Regions from separate parts of the Homo sapiens genome. Here region 1 is linked to region 2. The links are contacts of gene promoters, found by promoter capture Hi-C in blood cells and fetal thymus (Javierre and others, 2016). All regions are on one chromosome and are shown on one strand. The core of a region is centred on a gene start or on the middle of the fragment in contact, and the rest is flanking DNA. Distances in the headings are between cores, read along the strand shown. Region 1 overlaps OSBPL9 (oxysterol binding protein like 9). Region 2 holds the start of FAF1 (Fas associated factor 1).

Region 1 (5,297 bases), core at 88-2,587, 770 kb before region 2:
AGGGGAGTCCAGTGACAGACTAGTCAGAAAGCCTTGCAAAAGTCTAGGTGAGAGACCATGATGGCCTGAATTAAAGCATTATCATCTAGAAAAAAGTGACGAATCTGAAAAATATTACTAAGGCAAACATAACAGGACCTGGTGACTGGAGATGGAAAATAAGGAAGATGGAAAGTAGCTTTAAATGCCTGTGTGTGGTAGAACTTCATTAAAATATTTAAGGAGGAATACGTGGCTTAATTACATTGTCAGTATAAGAACTATTCTTTCAAGCTTAACAATCTTTGTTTAAACCTTTACTGAAAAGCTTCCTAAATATAATTTTCTAAGTATACTACAGTAATCACAAAGTCTTTTTTCTATATAAGAATCATCATAAATATCTGTTTTCGCTCTACAGTATAAAGTTTAGCTACAGATAGAACTCAACATACCCCAGGGGACATCCTAGAATTTGCTTCTCTGAACAAAAGCCTGATTATCAGATTTTCTTGTCATCGTCCCCTTTCTTAATCAACAGCGTGCAAACCATGTGAGTGCCTGACTTTCCAACCAGCAGAACATGGTGCTAACAAAATAATGCTCTTTCCTGGCTGAACCAAACTTACAGTTAAATTCCCTACTAATCTTAATATCAACAGAGATTGAAGTGGGGATGGCTGAGCGTACAAAATATAATAATCTTTTCACATTAAAAAACATTTGAAAAATTTCACATTAAAAATATCATAGAACTTTAGAAATACCAAAATGAACGTGACCAGTAGACAGCCTTTGCATCCTCGTATTTACTGAAGGGCACTTCCAAATTCATCGTCATCTCTGTCAAAGCCAAACTCAGGGCACTTTGTAAACAGATGAAACTTGTCTGTTGTCTTTCTTGTTTCTCACTTAAGCTCTCAAATCAGACTACAAATCTGTTTTTTTCTTTAAGAGTTTTTTTTTTTTTTTTTTGAGACAGACTCTTGCTCTGTCGCCAGGCTGGAGTGCAGTGGCACGATCTCGGCTCACTGTAAGCTCCCCCTCCAGGGTTTATGCGATTCTCCTGCCTCAGCCTCCCGAGTAGCTGGGACTACAGGCGCCCGCCACCACGCCCGGCTAATTTTTGTGTTTTTAGTAGAGACGGGGTTTCACCATGTTGGCCAGTCTGGTCTCGAACCCCTGACCTCAAGAGATCCGGCCGCCTCGGCCTCCCAAAGTGCTGGGATTATAGGCAGCACTGTAATTACAGGCGTGAGCTACTGCGCCCGCCTTTTTGTTTTGTTTTGTTTTGCTTTGAGACAGAGTCTTGCTCTCTGTCATCCAGGCTAGAGTGCAGCGGTGCAATCATAGCTCACCGCAACCTCAAACTTCTGGGCTCAAGGGATCCTTCCGCCTCAGCTTCCCAAGCAGGTGGGAACACAGGTGCACATCACCACCACGCTCAGCTCATTTTTAAATTTTTATTGGGGCAGGGGCGGGGGGAAGGTTCTGGCTTTGTTGCCCAGGCTGGTCTCCAGCTCCTGGACTCAAACAATTCTCCCGCCTCAGCCTCCCAAAGTGTTGGGATTGCAGTCTGAGCCACCACGACTGGCCCAAATCTGACTTTTAATCATACACCTTCCCTGAACTAGAAAAGGTAATACGGTATTTTTATTTAGGTTGTCTCTTGTCGGGCTGCACAAAAAAAAAAAGGTGGGGGGGAGTAAAGCAATATATTTAAAGTATAAATAAATGACAGGTGCTAACAGTATTCATTAAAGGGTTTCATCAACTACTTAGTTCAATACAGGCAGTGTTCAAGAGAGATTATTCATAATTAACTACGTGAGAATTTCCAGTTTCAAAGTTCACTGTAAAAACTTTTAAAACTACAACTACTATTCTAAGATGCTTCCAGCTTCTCCACTGAGAAACTAGGAATTACTTGATTTTAACTTCCTTAATACAGCTAAAAGTAAACAGTTTAATCAAAAAGCAAAACAAAGTATTACTTCAAATTAGCAAAACTGGTTTTCTTGTTCAATACATCTCTCAACCTTTCATAACAAATACTTATAATACAGTATGAATGTCAGCAAAAAGTGCATTACTCAAATATGCTTCCTAGTCCATTAATTATACTCAACTTTCCATAACTCGGCTGGGCTAAGAACCCCATAAAACTATACCAAAGTTTTCAGTATTTTTGCACAAGCTACCCAAAAAGCGTAAAATCACCTCCTTCCCGACACACATACTCAAAAACAATAGCATCCGTAATTACTTTATACACAAAAAATACAGGGCCAGGCACGAACACCGTGCCAAAAATAAACCACCACCAAAAAACACTTGGCCTGCAACTGGAGATTCTATTAATGGGCAACTGGTCAAAATTAAGCTTTCACATAAGAGAAAGCTTAACTTTTCTGCTTAAAATCATATTCTGAGACAGCTTTCAAAAGGAAAACAGAGTTCCACAAAAATGAATAGAAAAAAAGAGACCTCCTCCAAAGTCTCATTTGGGGGCGAATGCCCTCTCGGTGGAACTGGAGGCCCTGACCTCAGCCTCCACCCCATCTAGGCTGAGGAACTGAGAACTCCCAAGGAAGAGGGGCCCGGGCAGCCACGTCGTCCTACTCACCCCAGGGGGCGGCGGGAAGGAGGCAGGGTGAGCACGACATTCGCGCTCCGGCCTGGCGGCCGGGACCCCGGGGACTCAGGGGTAGGGGCCGGCCCCTCTCCCAGACCCTCGGGGTCTACTCACTCCGCAAGTGGCCAGCAAGAAAGCCATTCGCCAAGGCCCCCGCCCTCTGTGCCTCCAGGGGAGGTAGCCGGGGGCTGCTCCCGAGCACCCCTTTTTCTTCTCCCCTCGACCCGATCCCCGGACTGCGGTGCAGGCGGTCCTGACTGAGGTTCAGCCCGTCCCCCGGGACACCCCCTTCACCCCCTTCACCCCCCACCCCTTTCCCGTCCCCTCCCCGGCGGAGGGGTCGCCCCGATTGGCTGGCCCTGGCGGCTCCTGGCAAAGAGACCCCTGGCGATTGGCCATGGGTCACCTGCTGTAGGAGGTGAGAGGCAGACGATTGGCGGTTGGGCCAGTTTTGGGTGGAGAGGCCGAGGGAGCTGGCAGCTCGCGGGAGGGGTGCGCAGCGGCGGGAGGGCGTCCGGAGCGCCCCGCCCAGACCCGCGACCCAGCCGCCTCCGTGGGGGGCGGGGGTTCACCTTGGGGGAGTGCGCCTGGGGACACGCGGCTTCTGCGGCGCCGGCGCTGCTGGGGGAAAGGGAGGTTGCGCTCTGGGACGCTCAGCCTGGTTTCGGGGCTTCAGCCCCGCGGATTCCCACTGGGTAGCGGCTGGAGAAGGGCCCGCGGGCGCCAGCGTGCCTCACCTACACCCACCGGCTTCTAACGTGCCATCCAGTTTATGGCAGCTGTGGAGCCTGGTCCCCGGAGTTTCACCTTGATAACGGATTTTGCTTACTTCCGGAAAGTTGTGTCGCGTGGGGGTTGATGGAGTGAGGGGAGGAGGAGATACTATATCGGTAAACAAAAGCGTGAGCGCCTATATTTTTATTAATCCGGTGAGACATCGTGGGCTTGCTGTTGTGCCACAGCTCCATAAGGAATGTAGGTGGCTTGTAAAGATGCTTCAGGAATCCAAATGGCGCAAACTGCAGATTATATCAAAAGTCTGGACTTAAGAGGACCTCGACAGAGAATCACCCAAAATGCAGGGAATCACAAACATAAGTGATTAACTTATTGATCTGGAGGACTAGCTCCTTTTCCGCTCTTGCTGGTTTTTCTTATGGTTAGGTATCTTCCTATCCCGCCCCCTTTCAGGACTCTACTAAACGTCCAATTATCTTTTGTACTTTTATGTCTCTACTGGTACCCACTGCAAGACCTAGCACAGGGCACACTGCACAAACAGCGCGATGCTGGCCAGGCGCGGTGGCTCACTCCTGAAATCCCAGCACTTTGGGAGGCGGAGGCTGGGAGAGGCGGGGGAAGGAGGGAGGATTCGAGGCCAGGAGTTGAAGACCCCAAAAACAACAAAAAAAGGTGCAATGCTTGCTGAATAAATATGCTAACCTGCTGGACTCAGTGTTAAAGATACCTTCAGTTTGTTGTATGTAAATCACTTCAAAATGCCCAACACCAGATGCACTCTCCCCTTCCCCCTACCCACTCTAAAAGCTGGGTACTCTGCCAGGGCTCCCTGTCTCAGTAAATGAAACTGCTATCATCCACCCTAATACGCAAACCATAAACCTAGTAGTCCTCCTAGACACCTTCCCCATTTCACATTCAGTGCATCACCAAGTTCTGTCATTTTTACCTCCTAAATACACTCTCCATTCTGTCCATCTCTCTCCATTGCCACCACCCTATAACAGGTCCTGGCCTGTTGGAATAATCTTACTAAAGTCTTCTTGAATCTACTCTGGCTACTCCAATTCATTCTCAACACTAGAGCCAGAGCAGTATTTCTATAACCAATTTTATTACCCCTTCATTGCCTCCCCCAATTAAAGAACTTTAACTGCTTTCCACTGAGTTGTGCTTAGGATACAATTCAATATTTAACAATGGCTGACAAGGTTTAGCCTTACCTACCGCTTAGCTCCATCTTTTACCTTGTAGTACCTATTTTCTGCTTTGCACACAATGGCCTTTTTCAAACTCCTTTAATTTGCCAAGGACTTTCCAATTTTAGGGCCTTGGCGCATGCTGTTATTTCTTTTATACTGTCCCCTTGACATCAATCCCCACACTTCACTTATTTACTTCTACTCATCATCATTTCCTCCCTGCCAATGTCAGTTCTTGCTATCTTACATCGTCATAGCCCATGTAACTCTCCTTTGTAGAACTTACTACAGCTGTAATTTTACATTTATCTTAGTTATTTATTTAAATTTTTTTAGAGACAAAGTCTCACAGGTCTCATGTTGCCCATGCTGAACTCAAACTCCTGGGCTCAAGTGATCTTCCTGCCTCAGAAATAGCTGGGACTACAGGCGCACACACCACCTTACCTGAGTTATTCTTTTTAATTAACTTTATAGAGTCATAATTTACATGTGATAAAATGTATCCACTTTAAATGTACAATATATTTTCATAAACATATGCACACATGTAACCACCACGATTAAGAAATAAAGTATTTTCCATCACCTGGGAACTTCCCTCATGCTTCTCTACAGTCAATCCCATGAACCACTGCTCTGCTTTCTATTTGTGTTATTCTTTGATTAATGTTGATCTATACCACTAGACTGTAAGCTTAACGAAGTGAGGATCCTATCTAATTCTGTTCAGCATTATA
Region 2 (5,267 bases), core at 731-3,230:
ATGCCCAGCTAATTTTTGTATTATTTTTAGCAGAGATGGGATTTCACTATGTTGGCCAGGCTGGTCTTGAACTCCTGACCTCAAGTGATCTGCCTGCCTCGGCCTCCCAAAGTGTTGGGATTATAGGCATAAGCCACTGCCCTGGCCATGGAATTATTTTCTTACGGCTGAAAATTAAGCAAGACATTTTGATTCATGTGACTGTGGAGGGTTCTATTATCTAGCTAATTCTGGTCTAAACACAGATTAGTACTTAAGAACTGTAGGCCAGCCTATTTTCATTTAAGGAAACACACAGAATAAACTCAGATCATAATACAGTGCACTTCTTTATATTCAGTGAAACTGAACAATTAGGTCATATTTCTGATTTCTCATGAATATATTCCCAGTTTATGGAGCCTAGGCCTTGCTGGGTGTGGTGGTATGGCTCACACCTGTAATCCCCACTCTCAGGAGGCTGAGGTGGGAGGATGGCTTGAGCACAGGAGTTGGAAGCCAGCCTGGGCAACATAGTGAGGCCCTGTCTCTAAAAAAGTAAATAAATGATACAAGTTTAAAAAGTTCTTAAGGGAAGCCTAGGCCTTCATGCTACATGATGATTTCACTAGTTATTTTAGCTCTACAGGATAAAATCAGCAATCTTACTTCACATTTTCAAGCTTTTACATACTTTCCAAAGCAAGTAAATGCCCCATGACAATCCAGAAGCTGATATTTTCCCAAGTCAAGGATGAACAACTTCCACTGTCACACTTTCTCTAACCTGGACGACAATTACAAACTGTCACACTTCATTGTACATAGTCTTTGGCTGTTTTAGTTACAGAGGTTGTCAATTTCTGACCATGGGTTGAAACTTTCAATATTTGGTGAATATTCCAAAATAATTTCTTATGAAAATGAATAGGCCGGGTGCAGTGGCTCACGCCTGTAATCCCAACACTTTGGGAGGCCGAGGAGGGCGGATCACGAGGACAGGAGTTCGAGATCAGCTTGCCCAACATAGTGAAACCCCGTCTCTACTAAAAATACAAAAAAAACTTAGCCGGGCTTGGTGGCGGGAGCCTGTAATCCCAGCTACTATGGAGGCTGAGGCAGGAGAATCGCTTGAACCCAGAAAGCGGAGGTCGCAGCGAGCCGAGATCGCGCCACTGCACTCCAGCCCGGGCCACAGTGCGAGACTCCGTCTCAAAATAATAAATAAATAAATAAATAAATAAATAAATAAAAATAGACTGACTATATTCAAAGCTGGATTCAAGTTTTATCCCATTTGTAAGATGTCTCAGCTTAAAAAAACAAATATAACTGCAGCAGTAGAAAGGTTTTCCCTTTTTTCCCCCTTTGGAGCAACCCTATTAACTCGAGGTTGTTATTTCTCATAACTACCTTATCAATTAAAAAAAATGCTCCTCCTCTTCTCTGGAACGAGATTTTTACCTTTCTCAGCTTCCTCGTCTCTCCCATGTCTACCATGGCAGTCTGGTTACTTCTGTGTTACGGAGTCTGAGGATGCAGACGTCAGGGAGCTTGGGACTGGGTGTGACAGTGTGGATTCGGTTTTGACAGGTTGAGCGTGAGAGACTATATGAAGCTGTATTTTGCTGAAACATTGTAGAGAAAAACATATATTTCTGAAATGCTGTTTGTTAGACGAGTTGTAACAGTGTGTTTAGTTGGTTTGTGAGGGTGGTGTGTATTTGTGTGACTAACCACGTGAGGTGCACAATCTGGTCCCCGCCTCAGCTAGGGGGAGGCGCTATCCTGAGGCCTTTGCTTAAATCCAAACTGGAATAACCTGTTGCGAGACTTGAAGCTTCCGCAGCTGCAGGTTGCAGTCTCTGCCGCCAGCGCAGAGATCCTGGCCGGGTAGTCGCGCGCTCAGCGCTTGACAGGAGGGTGGTCACGTGGAGCCGCAAAGCGGCGCTTTGCGACCTCGATGACAGGCAAAATGTGCGACAGCCGTGGCGCTGGCCAACCAGGGGCGGAGGCGGCGGCCAGGGAGGAAGCGGAGGAGGCGGAGGCGGCCGCGGCGTTCGCCCGCCCGCTCGCTCGCTCGGTTTCCCCGCCCCCGCCGGGCTTAACGCCGCTGAAGGTATCCGGGTGCGCGCTGTCGCAACCTGCCCTCATCCTGGCCCGCGACTGTAAGACCGGACCCACATCCAGACCAATCTTCCTGTCCGGGCTGCTGCGACGCGGGCTCCGCAGGTTGCAGGCGGGCGGCCGGGGCGCCTGAAGGTTACCGAGTGCATGAGCGCCTAGCGCTTCCCGCGCTGCCCCGCCCGCTGGCCCGCCGACCCGCCCGCCGGCTCGCCCGCCAGCCCCTCGGCGCCCGGCGGCGGCGGCGGCGGTGGCGGCGACGGTCGCAGGAGGTGCCGTCTGCCTCCCAGGTGCGCGCTTCGCTCCCGGAGCCGCGGAACTCGGCGGCCGCCATGGCGTCCAACATGGACCGGGAGATGATCCTGGCGGATTTTCAGGTGAAGTATCTGGCCCTCTTCCCCTCCCACTTCCAACCTCGTGGGTTTCCGGTGCCACAAGGGAGTCTTCTTCCCAGCGTTTGAACGCTGCAGTGGTGTGTCATTTAGGCTTTTATACGGTGCGTGGCGTGTGTGTGTGTGTGTGGCGAGCTATGGAGAAGCGTATAATTTATATGCTATCATGAGTGTGTAGAATGTGTTAAGTACGGGTTGAATGGGATTGGAGGTATTAATGACTTGGGTTACAATGTGTGTGGAATGTGTAGTGTTTCCTGTATTATATGGGGGGACGTGTAGAGTTTTTGTTTTAATTGGTGTTGGACCATTAAGTATGGGATGTTTTGGGTGGTTCTGTGGGGAGAGATGTATGGAGTGTGAGCGTGGAGCGTGTGGTGTTATGGGCGTGGTGTATTTATATTGTATTAAGGGAAGAGTAAAAAAGCAGAATGATGAGATGGCGAGGGCAATGACAATGGGGTACTGAGGTCCTTTTCAAAGAGGAGTAAACATTTGAGACTTTGCCTAATTGGAATCTTTGGAGGGTAAGAAGATAACAAGGAGACAGATAAGACTATATATTCCAGAGTATCTCTGCAATGAATTCACAAGCTTAATAAATTACCTATTCATATTTGCGGATTCCCCTCCCCTACAGACTTGAATTGCTTGGTTGGTGTCCTTTCTCCAGGAATACTTTAAAGGATAAGTAAAGGCTGTTCTCTTAATAAACCCAGTCGTAGTGCCACTGACATGTAAGTATCTTAGGAAGGCCCTTTGAAAGTAGAACTGTATGCATTGTGAAAGACTTGGAGCTAGAACTAATATCCTGTGAGTGCTACCTTTGCCTTTTGATGTTTGGTGAAGGAATTATTTTAGTGAGATATTTTTGGCCATTTTGGCATCAACTTAGAAGCTACTGTCAAGTATAGGCAGACTTTTCCCTCTTTTTTAATACTCACATTGCACAGGTTCTAACACTAGCTTAGTAGGCAGTATTTTTCCTTGCTGAAATTTTGTTGGGCTTTTCTCTCTCTCTGTTCTATTAAGTTCCTTATTTTTTTTAAAATTAATTAATTTTTTTTTTTTTTTGAGACGGAGTCTCGCTCTGTCGCCCAGGCTGGAGTGCAGTGGCGCGATCTCGGCTCATTGCAAGCTCCGCCTCCCAGGTTCACGCCATTCTCCTGCCTCAGCCTCCCGAGTAGCTGGGACTACAGGCGCCGGCCACCACGCCTGGCTAATATTTTTGTATTTTTAGTAGAGACAGGGTTTCGCCGTGTTAGTCAGGATGGTCTTGATCTCCTGACCTCGTGATCCACCCTCCTCGGCCTCCCAAAGTGCTGGGATTACAGGCGTGAGCCACACTGCTCCCGGCCCTTATTTTTACAAATTAACGTTCAGATAACCATTTTCAGAGTTTGCTGTTTTGGTTACCCAGTGAAATCTGATATACAGGTATTAGGAATATGCATATATCTACAGTTTGATTAAACCATAACCTCCAAACTAATAAAGGAGTGTCCTTATAATAAAAGTTGACCATAAGATTTTGATGTTTTGTAGGTTTAGGATTGGCCTGAGGCTTTTTGCCTGCCTACATTTTAAAAAATTTTTCAATTAATTAATTAATTAAATTTTTTAGAGATGGGCCTTGCCATGTTGCCCAGGCTGGTCTTGAACTCCTGGGCTCAAGTGATCTACCCACCTCAGGCTCCGAAAGTGTTGGGAATACAGGTGTAAGCTCCAACACCCAGCCCTGCCTAAGTTTTTCATCATCGTCTTTTTGTTTTGTTTTTGTTCTCCAGTTCCATTTTTTATCTAATGTGGAATGCACTGTTTGAAAAAGGACTCTATATTTCAAGGTGTAGTTTTACCGTGTTACAAAATTGTCTTCTGATTTCCCTCATTAAAAACTTTATAAAGTAATTATAACTTTGTTTTAATTTTACCTTTTTATCTCTAATAACTTGCATCTGCTTTCTATTTTTTGTGTGTGACAATTATTATGCTTAACTGTTAACCTTATATTGGCTAAAGGACAGGAAATTTAGGCTTCTTGTACTCAGGCAAAGCAAGATTTTCCAGGGATTTTGGTTTGGAAATGAAAATGAAAATTTCGGCCGGGCATGGTGGCTCAGGCCTGTAATCCCAGTACTTTGGGAGGCTGAGGGGGCGGATCACGAGGTCAGGAGATCAAGACCATCCTGGTGAACATGGCGAAACCCGGTCTCTACTAAAAAAATACAAAAAATTAGCCGGTCGAGGTGGCGGGCGCCTGTAGTCCCAGCTACTCGGGAGGCTGAGGCAGGAGAATGGCGTGAACCTGGGAGGCGGAGCTTGCAGCGAGCTGAGATTGCGCCACTGTACTCTAGCCTGGGCGACAGAGCGAGACTCTGTCTCAAAAAAAAAAAAAAAAAAAAAAGAAAATGAAAATTTCGATCCCATTAATAAGATGGGAATAAGTTTTTCTCTTCAGACCAATGGTAATGCTATACACAATTGTTTAAAAATGGGAAAAATAGAATGGCATCTGCAGTGAACAATTGTTTGCCTAATAATGTTAATTTTATATTGTCAAATAGGTAAAAGAATGTTATTGATAGAAGAAAAAATTATTTGGAAAACTACACACCTTAAACACATTAGCCATTTGTGTGTTTAGGAACCTGGAGTTCTCTTACAAATGATCGTCTTAGTAAAAAGTGATGATTCTTCCTGTTTTTTATATTATCTCAATTTTTATAGGATTGACTTAAAAGTAAGCATTTATTCAGTTATAAGAAAACCAGG

What was found. Contacts are between HindIII fragments. The CHiCAGO score rates a contact against its expected background, and 5 or more counts as called.
Region 1: a contact is called between a fragment that was not itself captured here and the fragment with the promoter of FAF1 in region 2, in 5 of 17 cell types (fetal thymus, activated CD4 T cells, non-activated CD4 T cells and 2 more). The highest score is 9.0, in fetal thymus.

What each region holds. Positions count from the first base shown.
Region 1 is chr1:51,727,433-51,732,729 of GRCh38, reverse strand. The region is part of intron 4 of OSBPL9 (oxysterol binding protein like 9); the gene reads right to left. Among named protein-coding and RNA genes, the nearest start is that of MIR761, 110 kb to the left of the region's middle. RefSeq lists silencers at 1,360-1,409, 2,615-2,664, 2,875-3,294 and an enhancer at 2,630-3,150. The HindIII fragment of the contact is 2,055 bases long and covers 310-2,364 here.
Region 2 is chr1:50,956,980-50,962,246 of GRCh38, reverse strand. It overlaps FAF1 (Fas associated factor 1), which reads left to right and starts at 1,980. Exons shown (of 19, transcript NM_007051.3): 1 at 1,980-2,480. The coding sequence starts at 2,436. It also overlaps a transcript of CDKN2C not described here. RefSeq lists silencers at 2,014-2,173, 2,284-2,333 and an enhancer at 2,644-2,693. The HindIII fragment of the contact is 1,270 bases long and covers 1,822-3,091 here.